Linked DNA regions of Homo sapiens: all the other regions are linked to region 3. The links are contacts of gene promoters, found by promoter capture Hi-C in blood cells and fetal thymus (Javierre and others, 2016). All regions are on one chromosome and are shown on one strand. Each heading gives the region's core, a stretch centred on a gene start or on the middle of the fragment in contact. The rest is flanking DNA. Distances are from core to core; before and after follow the strand shown.

Evidence for each region. The method cuts DNA at HindIII sites, captures the fragments that hold promoters and counts their contacts. A CHiCAGO score of 5 or more calls a contact.
Region 1: a fragment that was not itself captured here is called in contact with the fragment with the promoter of IRX1 in region 3 in 1 of 17 cell types (fetal thymus); the score reaches 6.6 in fetal thymus.
Region 2: a fragment that was not itself captured here is called in contact with the fragment with the promoter of IRX1 in region 3 in 1 of 17 cell types (fetal thymus); the score reaches 5.9 in fetal thymus.

Annotation. Positions count from the first base shown.
Region 1 is chr5:4,165,911-4,169,194 of GRCh38, forward strand. No RefSeq gene overlaps it. Among named protein-coding and RNA genes, the nearest start is that of LINC02063, 32 kb to the left of the region's middle. The HindIII fragment of the contact is 1,359 bases long and covers 1,135-2,493 here.
Region 2 is chr5:4,202,256-4,205,227 of GRCh38, forward strand. No RefSeq gene overlaps it. Among named protein-coding and RNA genes, the nearest start is that of LINC02063, 68 kb to the left of the region's middle. The HindIII fragment of the contact is 799 bases long and covers 1,219-2,017 here.
Region 3 is chr5:3,594,081-3,597,317 of GRCh38, forward strand. It overlaps IRX1 (iroquois homeobox 1), which reads left to right and starts at 1,752. Exons shown (of 4, transcript NM_024337.4): 1 at 1,752-2,301. The coding sequence starts at 2,026. RefSeq lists a silencer at 1,455-1,749. The HindIII fragment of the contact is 18,185 bases long and covers 1-3,237 here.

The DNA.
Region 1 (3,284 bases), core at 564-3,063, 570 kb after region 3:
ATCTAGGTTCCCTAGATTCACAAATAAAAAAAAATTAGTGGCTAAAATGACTTCTGCAATAAAATAAATAGTTGTTTTTTATCTGTATGTTGTAATAACATAACATGCATTATATATTAAACCTGCCTGGCTACACTATCTCACAATCATCGCAAAATCCAAGTGCAGAAACAATCATAACTCTATGGGTAAAATAGAGATTAACAGAGTTTGAATTTACCTAGGGCATCATAAAGCATAATCTGGTGTAAGTTCTATCTCTTGGGGGCTCCATTATGAAAAGAATAGAATAATAAGAAAATGTGAGTTAATTTAAAGTGAAAAATATACTATATGCATGTAATAAAAATAATTAAATATTGTGGTTGACAAGCATTTCTTTACCTGCCCAGATTTTTTAAAGAAGAAAGAAAAAGAAAAGAAAGAAAAGAAGGAAGGAAGGATGGAAAGAAGGAAGGAAGGAAGGCAGGGAAGGAAGGAAGGAAGGAAAAAAGAAAGATTTATTCTAAGATGCAAGGATTGCTTAATATAATAATAAATAATTGCAATTTGTAAAATAAGTTATAACTGACGGAATGAAAGAGGAAATTATATGAACATCTCAATAGTTACAGAAATAGCATAAGCAATACACATTTATGTTAAGATAACAACAACAACACTCAATAATTTAGGAAATAAAGCAAACTTATGTTATCTGAAATAATATATCTATTAAAATACAGAGAAAGTTAACAAAAATTGGGGAACATTAACAGCATTTACTTTAAAATTAGAATAATTTATACTCAATATCACTACTTACACTCAAATTTGTATGAAAGGTCCTCACCAGTAAAATATGACAAAAACAAAAGAAAATATAAGAATGAAATACTCACTAGAATGTAGCAAACTTTTATTATTTTAAAATAATAACTGTTTATATTTTGAAATTTTTTTTAATATCCAGAAAAATTATGGGAAAGAACAGTAGACATTACTAAGATTGCTAGATGTAAGCTTAATATACAAAAGTCATCTAATTTTTGTGTCCCAGTGGCAAATGATTAGAAATTTTAACTAAAAGAAACACATCATTAAATAGTATCAAAGTCTTAAAATGCCCAAATAAGTATACAGAAGAAAACACAAAGCTTTGTTAAGAGATGTTCAACAATACAGAAATACATAGAGTTGTACTACATTTATCAATAATGAGAATTAATCTAGATGATTTTTAAAATGTACTTGAAAGAGTACATGACCATGAATATCTGAAGAAGACTCTGGAGTGAGGTTAGCTTACTAAACATTAAGCCGTTATCATTACAAAACTACAATGCTTAAAAGTGTGTGGTGCTAGTGCAGAGGTAGACATTATATCAAGGTAAGAAATTACTCTGATGCAGTTGCCACATCCTAGTACACTACCAGGCAAGCATTCGATTTTCCATGGAGCCATAGAGACTCACAAAACAAATAAGAATCACACAGTTTTTGAAGAACTCACAAATATTGAGCAATACATAAGAGGGTATATATTGGAAATTTAAGCACCTAGAGTGGTTTGCAAGCAGAAGGCAGAATGGGAGGACCACATGTGAAAATCTAGATGCACTGTTACACAAGATCTCCTTCGGTTCCTGACATTAGTCTTTCCCAGTGCCAGTGTAACAGTGTGGTTATAAGAACCAGGCTGAAGATGAGAAAGGATTCTCAGCATAGGCAAGCAGCCTCGAATCGTAGACACTTGCTTCATGAGAAAATGCAGAAGCAAGTGTATTGGACACAGCTGCAACTCACTTTTTCCTGCTGAGTAGCAATATTTGTATCTGGGCAGAAGATGCACAGAGTCCAAACAGGTGTCACCAAAGAATGTGCAATATAGCTGTAATTCTGTAGGTGACAGACCCATGTTTTATAGTTACTAATTTTAACTGGGTTGTTTTAATCCTTTATTTTTATTAGCATTACTTTTAATATCCCCATCCTTTTTCAAACTTATTTCCAACACACGTTTATAGTCTATCTAAGTAAAACTCTATCACACAGGTAACTACTTACAACCCATCTATATTTGCTAGTTATTCCTATTGGTGTATGTATTTATTTCTCTTGTTTGTATGGCATAGTGAGACATTCTCAACAAACACAACAAGCACAAATTTCTCGATACAATAAAATAAAGATTTCCGAAACAGAACCGTACAAGCATAGAACTTTGATGTATGACACAGATGGCTTGACAGATGAGTGGAAAAAAGAGACAAATATTCAATAAATAAAGCTGAAAAAATAATTTTCTATAAAGCATGCATATATAATGTATATTTTAATACCTACATCATACCATATACAAAAATTATCTCCAAACAGGTTAATAAGTTAAGTAACAAAAATAGAAACTAAAACTCAGTAGAAAATAAATGTTAATATATTTTCGAACTTGGTGCCACAAAATATTTCTTGAATAATACACAAAAATATTAACTATGAAAGAAAACGTTAGTAAGCTTGACCATATTTAAATTTTAAAACTTTTGTCTATCAAAAGATGCCTTAAGTACAGTGTAAAAAATTACAAACTTTAAGAAGTTATTCACAATATATGCAACCAGTAGATTTTGGAATTAAGAATATATAACGAAAGCCTACAAATTCAGAAGAAAAACACAAACAATCCAATCTAAAAGGCACAAAATATATAAACAGACATTTCACAGAAGCAGAAAGTAAATGGACACTAAGCACTTCAAAGAAAGTTTAACATTATTAGTGACAGAAAAGTATAAACCAAGACTTTGATGAAACACCATCTTAAACATATTATTGATAAAAATTAAAAAGCCTCCAAGAAGTCTTTTGGAAGCCTCCAAGAAGATGTAGATGAAGAGAAGCTCTTGAATGTAAGATGCCAATATTTGTGGCAATGAGGGCTACTTTTTGGAAAGGAGTTTGGCGTAGTTTCTTCAGGTTGAATGGTCACATGCCCCCTTCCTTAGGAGTATATCCAAGGAACACTTCCTAAGGGAGGAGTGTGCAGTAATGTTCGTGCCAACACTTTTTCAGTGGCAGAAACCTACAGCCCGCCTTGAATGCCCATCAACTTGAGAGTGGACAAGTAAACTGGGGTATATTCACCTAATGAAATATGCGACAGCAGACAAACCAATGAACACAGTGGCACAACAAGGTGGGTAAATCTAAAGCCCAACACATTCTTTGACAGTTCATTTTATGTGCCTAATTAACAAGGTTATGGTGCCTAAATCATTTGGTCAAATACGAGTCTAGATGTTGCT
Region 2 (2,972 bases), core at 368-2,867, 610 kb after region 3:
CTAGGCCGGGCGCGGTGGCTCACGCCTGTAATCCCAGCACCTTGGGAGGCCGAGGCGGGCAGATCACGAGGTCAGGAGATTGAGACCATCCCGGCTAACACGGTGAAATCCCATCTCTACTAAAAAATACAAAAAAATAAGCCGGGCGTGATGGCGGGCGCCTGTAGTCCCAGCTTCTCGGGAGGCTGAGGCAGGAGAATGGAGTGAACCCGGGAGGCGGAGCTTGCAGTGAGCCGAGATCGCGCCACTGCACTCCGGCCTGGGCGACAGAGCAAGACCCCATATCAAAAAAAAAAACAAAAAAATTCCTGGATTTCCTGTGAGAACAAACCCCACCCTAATTGGTGAGGAGGCCAGGCTTTGAGTGCCCTGAAGCTTACACATTGTGGGCTGGTATATGTAAAGATAAACAGGACAACAATAATTGCATTTCCTAACTTCATAAAAGTCTATGCTAAAGTAGACATTTCTGAGTCACCTTTCCAGTGCCTGGAAAGGAGTTGTGCAAGTGGAAGTTGCAGAAGCCCCTTCGCTTCCTGGCAAGTCTTTCTTGGTGGAAACCTTTGCATTTCATAGCTCCAGGGCAGGGCCTTTGGGAGCTCTCGGTTGGTCCAGCCTGTCCCTCAACGGCATCGCAAGTCCTATGGGGACTTTGGAGCATCCCTGCGTGGCAGTGCAAACTGAATCGTATGGACATCAAAGTCCTGAGCAAGTGTGGAGTGTCTTTTATGTCCAGAAGGGAGCTAAGGCATGAGACACCTAAAAACCCCCTGCACTGTGCCCTGAGGGAGTTTCCAGTCTGGGTGGGGGTGGTGAGAGGCCACTGGGATCTTTGGAATAGACATACAGAACACAAAGATTGCACTACACAAAGTTGTTCTGGAGGCTCAGGACATTGGAAAACTTGCCCAGAAGCAAGCGCGGGGCCCCAGCCACATTCCAGCCCCACCTGATCTCATGTCAGATGTCCACCTGGAGCTTCTCCATCCAGCAGAAGGTGGTGAAATCAGATTTGCACAGGGCACCCTATAAAGGCCAAAATGAAGAGGGCAGATGGAAGGAAGATAGACCAGAGGCAGACTCACAGGGTGCCCAGCTGTCCCTGTCTGCTTGGGAATCTCCTAATGACAGTCGTCTTCAATGTCTTCCTGTAAACAGCACTCAGTCCTGTGAAAATGTGGATGGGTGGTCACTTTAAGGGAGAGGCAACAGAACTGAAGCTTCAACCTGAAGCAGCGGCCACATGGGTAAAGTGAAAAGGGGACAATCAAAGAGGCATTGAAGAAATGACTCCCAGAGCACAGCCAGCCTGGATGAGAGGTAAAGGACGTGGGAGGTGGGATGGTCTTCCTCTGATGTTCAGCCTTGACAGTGACTTTCAGGTACATTACATCATTGACGCCTTGCTCCCATTGTAAATTCTTCAACATTGTGATGTTATGTTTTTCTTTTTTAAGTAATATTTGATTTTTAGGTTGTTTTTATCCACTGGAAATAATAAGTTATATTTGAAATGTTTGGGAAGAGACCTTGCAGAGGAGGGGACTATAAGAAGTTTTATTTTGCTAGCTGTTTAAATAGAACTCTTTCTTTCTTATTCCATCAGTGAGCATGTTCAGTAAGTTTTCTTTCAAATATCCTCAATCAAGTTGAACCTTGAAAAATGTGCATTTTAAGTTTAAATTTTATCTTCCAAGTGATGGAGATTGTCATCCACAGAACATTTTTTTGAAAATATAAAAAATTCTTATTAGGTCCCATGTATTTATTTTCCCTCAATCATTTATTATATTCATACATTCCATTGCTTGTTCAGGCCATATCTGACCTCCTTATAAAACTATAAAGTTATTAAAATAAAAAGTGAATATATGAGATATCTAAATTGCCATTAGCTACTAAGATATCTCTTAGCATGCAGATTAGTAACAGATATTTGATTTTGGATTTTATAACCATGAATTATTCCTAAAGTATTCCATTTTCCCTACATCCAAATAAGTTGAGTCAACATCTAAGCTTCTTGTTTTTGTCTTTCTTTAATAGGCCTATAAAACAGGCATGACTGTCCTGGATGAATAAATCAAGCCGTTTGCCATCACTGCTGCTTTCCCCATGCACTGCCGACCAACAATATTCCCTACCATGTGCACCCCATTCACAGCCCTCTGAGCACTTGTCTAGCTGTGCTAATCCCAGTACACCATGCTGGACACGTGCAGATGTGGGAGGGTTGGCAAGCTTGCGAAGGAAAATCACAGTCCAGGATACGCTGAACAAGTTTACCTTTGTTCTTAGTACAGACACCTGTCCACCATTTTACAATTTCCATGTTTCTCACGATGTTTCTTCAGACTGAGGGAGATCTGGTCTCTTGTTCTTTTGCCCATTTGTTTTGCTGTGTTCCAAGTAAGAAAACACGGCGTTATTGGCACAGACACTAAACACAAGGCTTCACTTACAAGTTCCAACACCACCCCCCTCCTTGTTTTAATTCCTGCTGTTGACTCCACGTTCCCCTGCATCATGCAGGTGGCCTGCACTCCTTTCAGTCGTTACCAGCAATGCTTTTGTTTCTGTCCTCATGGCTGCATGGGACACAAGTTCAGGGGAGAATGATGTGTGAGTGGAAAGCATCTTCAGCCAAGGCCAGAAGTGCCCTCATGATCCTATACCCTTTTATTACACAGCAGGTGATTGGATCTGTTCCAGGCTGATTTTCACCAAGTGCTAGTTCAACTGCTCTGAGACCACAGTGGGTTTCATAAGGTTTTCAGCTTCAATCTCTTTCCAAATAGGTAGTGAGATAGAAAACCTATTTTTAAGAAATATTTCAAGGCTAAAGCTGCAGAATAAAAGCCCTGTCTTCCTCTCATCACCGTAGGCACAGTTGTGATTTTATTATTCTATATTGAGAACAACTAAATTCACTCCCACCTCAAAAAAAAAAAAAAAAAAAGAAAAAAAAAAGC
Region 3 (3,237 bases), core at 502-3,001:
CAGCCCGGAATCTATGTAAAAGCAGGAAAGGAACCCTGGAGGTTGTAGGCGGATCCTGGAGTGTGGAGGGGCGAATTGAGCGCGGGAAGCAGCATGACTAGCAAGACAATCTGACTCAGAGCAGGGAAAAATCAAGCCCGATGTCGGAGCTGGTTATTAGTAATTACTACCATCACGGGCATTATTGTTGCTAATTATAGGCGATGTCTCAGTGTCTGTCCTCAGGCCCGGAAAACCGGAGCCCCTCCTGATGCTGCTGAAGTCCCTGGGCCTCGAGGCTCCGTGAAGAGAGGGAAGCGAGGCAGGGGGTGAAGGGACCGCCTGGCCGGTGTCCAGGATACGGGTGGCTCAAACCACCAGCAGAACAGCATGCCGACTCTGGCCCGATGGCCGCCTTCATCCCGTAGCCCCAACCCGGCCTAAAGCCGAGAAGACGCCAGAGTGCGCTGCTGAAATTCCCGCGGAGTCCGGTGTGCTGGAGAGCCGCAGCGGGGTGAACTCCCGGCCCCGTCTCTGCGTAGGAGGTGGTTCGCAAAGTGGCCCCGGGAGCCGGGACTGGTACCCGGTTCCCCACGGCACCGTCCGGAGCTCTCCAGCCACGAGGCGCAGAAGTGGCCTGCCAGCGCCTTCCCAGGCTCAGGGAGGCGAGGAGGCCCGTGCACTTGGCATCTTCTCCCGGGAGCCGCACGGCCAGGGCCGCGGCGAAACGGAGCCCATCTCAAGTGCGCCGCGCCTGGCCGCGTCCTGTAGCCCGACGAGGCTGAGGATGGAGAGGGGAGACGCAGGGAGAAGAGGGACGCGGGACTTGGACCCAAGAGGCCGCTCCGTTGCCGGTCTGGCGGCGGCGCCGACTCGGGTTCGCGCGTTCCACACAAGTTTCCTGTCTGCCTCTGCACACCTGGTGGACAAACCGGGCGTCCAGGCCACACCGTCTTCCCCCTTCGCGGGGGCGCGGGGGATGTTTCCCTCCGGCTGCCAGGGGGCTTTCTGGGTGAAGAGAAAGCCCCTCCCCCCGCGTCTCCCCCACCCCTCCCTCCGAGAACCCGCGGCGCCGACTGCGCCTGCTTCCCCCGAGCTGGCGACTTCTCCGCGGGATTTGCCCTCGCTCAAAGTTTGCACAATTGAAAGAGCCCGCAGAGCTCGGCCGCTCCCCGCTTCCCCAAGGGCGGCGAGGCCGGTCATTGGCAGACGATCGGTTACTACCCAGTAGGGGCCCACGGGAACCCGCATCTGGAGTCGGGGGTGTCACGCCACGCCGGTTCAGTGGCTCGCGGAGAGCGTCCGGGTGCACTTCTGCCAAAGATGTCCCCTGGAGGCCCCGGCCGCGCGGGACTCGGGGGAGAGGCCGCTCCCCCCTCGCTGTCACCAGCGTCCAGGCCGCCGGCCCCTTCCCCGCTGCCCAAACAGTAGAAAAGCAGGCGCCAAGTTGTTTTTGTTAAAAAGGGGACACACCTCGGCCGCGAAACTGCAAACCCGGTGTCAGACAGCTGTAAACCCGTGTCGACAGGTTGTCAGACAGCTGCGGGGGCTGGTCGGGAAGGAGCCCACGGCCTCCGGGCCCACACCCCGCCGCCCCGACGCGCGCGCCCACCGCGAGAGTAGCTGGCCGGGCCGGCACGGGGCACCACGTGCTCGCGGGAGGGGCGGGAGCGGCCGGCGAGGGCGGGCGGGAGGCAGGGAGGGGGCGGGAGGGGAGCCAGGGGCGGGGCCTGCGCTCAAGGGGATGCCAATCAAAGCATCAACTTCAAATTGTGTCTGAAAGCCCCGCCGCCGAGCGGAGGGCGGCCGCCGCAGTCGGCGCGCGATTGCGGATCCGGGCGCAGCCGGGAGCCGGGCGCCTGCGAGCACCGGGCAGAGGAGCCGCGACCGGCCTCCATCTCCCGGCCCGCCCGAGCGCGCCCGGCCGGCCGCCCGCTCCTCCCTAGACCCCTCGCGGCGCCCCCTGCAACCCCCTCCGGCCGGCCTCCGCCTCCCTCCCCGCGCCTTTAATACTCGCCCGCTGCGGCGGTCGCCGAGTCCGCGGACATGTCCTTCCCGCAGCTGGGCTACCCGCAGTACCTGAGCGCCGCGGGGCCGGGCGCCTACGGCGGCGAGCGCCCGGGGGTGCTGGCCGCGGCCGCTGCGGCGGCTGCCGCCGCCTCGTCGGGCCGACCGGGGGCCGCGGAGCTGGGCGGCGGGGCAGGCGCGGCTGCAGTCACCTCGGTGCTGGGCATGTACGCGGCGGCGGGGCCGTACGCGGGCGCGCCCAACTACAGCGCCTTCCTGCCCTACGCCGCGGATCTCAGCCTCTTCTCGCAGATGGTGAGTGCGCCCGGCCTCCCCCGCTTCTCCTCTGTCTCACCCGCGCCAGGGCAAGGGTGGCGGGTCGCCCGGGAGGGAGAGACTACGGGTGGACCTGGTCCGGAAGAGGAACTAGAAAGGTCCGGGGGCAGGTTCCCGGTGGCCGAGGCCGCGGCCCCCGGGGACGCAAGAGGGCTGGGAGGCCGGGCGGGTGACGGCTGGGCCATCTCGGCCTGGGAAAGCGGAAGGCCCGGGCCAGGGAGCGGGTAGCGAGTGAATTCAGAGAGGCCGCAGAAGCAGGCCCGTGGAGCGGTGCCCGCGCTGGAGGTCGGGGGCAAACTCGCCTGGCTCGGCCAGGGCGCCCGGGCAGGCCCACGGGGTTCCTGCAGGTCGGCCCGGCGTAGCGTAGCAGGACTTCCCTTCCTGGCCGCGGGTTCCACTCGCGCGGCCTCTTTAGTTTTCGAACCGAGTCTGGAAAACTTGGTTTTCTCCCTCTTTAGCAGCTCCGAGATAGTTGTATCCGAGTTTGCCAGACAGACCCCTTCTAAGCCTGGTAGAGTCAATCAAAATAATCTTAACAATAGAGGTCCAAAGGGATGGAGAGGTCTCTCCACGGCGTGAGTGCGAATTTGAGATTAAACAAAAATTAAGTTGCAGTAATGTGCTGGTGTCTGAAACGGTGTTTGATTTTACTTTTGTAAGTTGCCCAAGTTTTCATTTCATTTGCACAGAAAGAAAAGCACTTTTCTTCCTGCGTTACATAATGGAGGATTAAAGAAAACAGTGTCCCTTGGCTTAAAACAAATGGTGTCCTCTTAGTCTCCCGTCCCAGTGGGCGTTAGATGTCGGGGCAGGCGGCTGCACACTTAATTCTCCGCGGGGGCATTGGCCTGTCTGCCGGTCCAAATCATCCATTTTCCTTGGTCTGACTGCAAGGTCGGTGCTTAAACTTCGGAC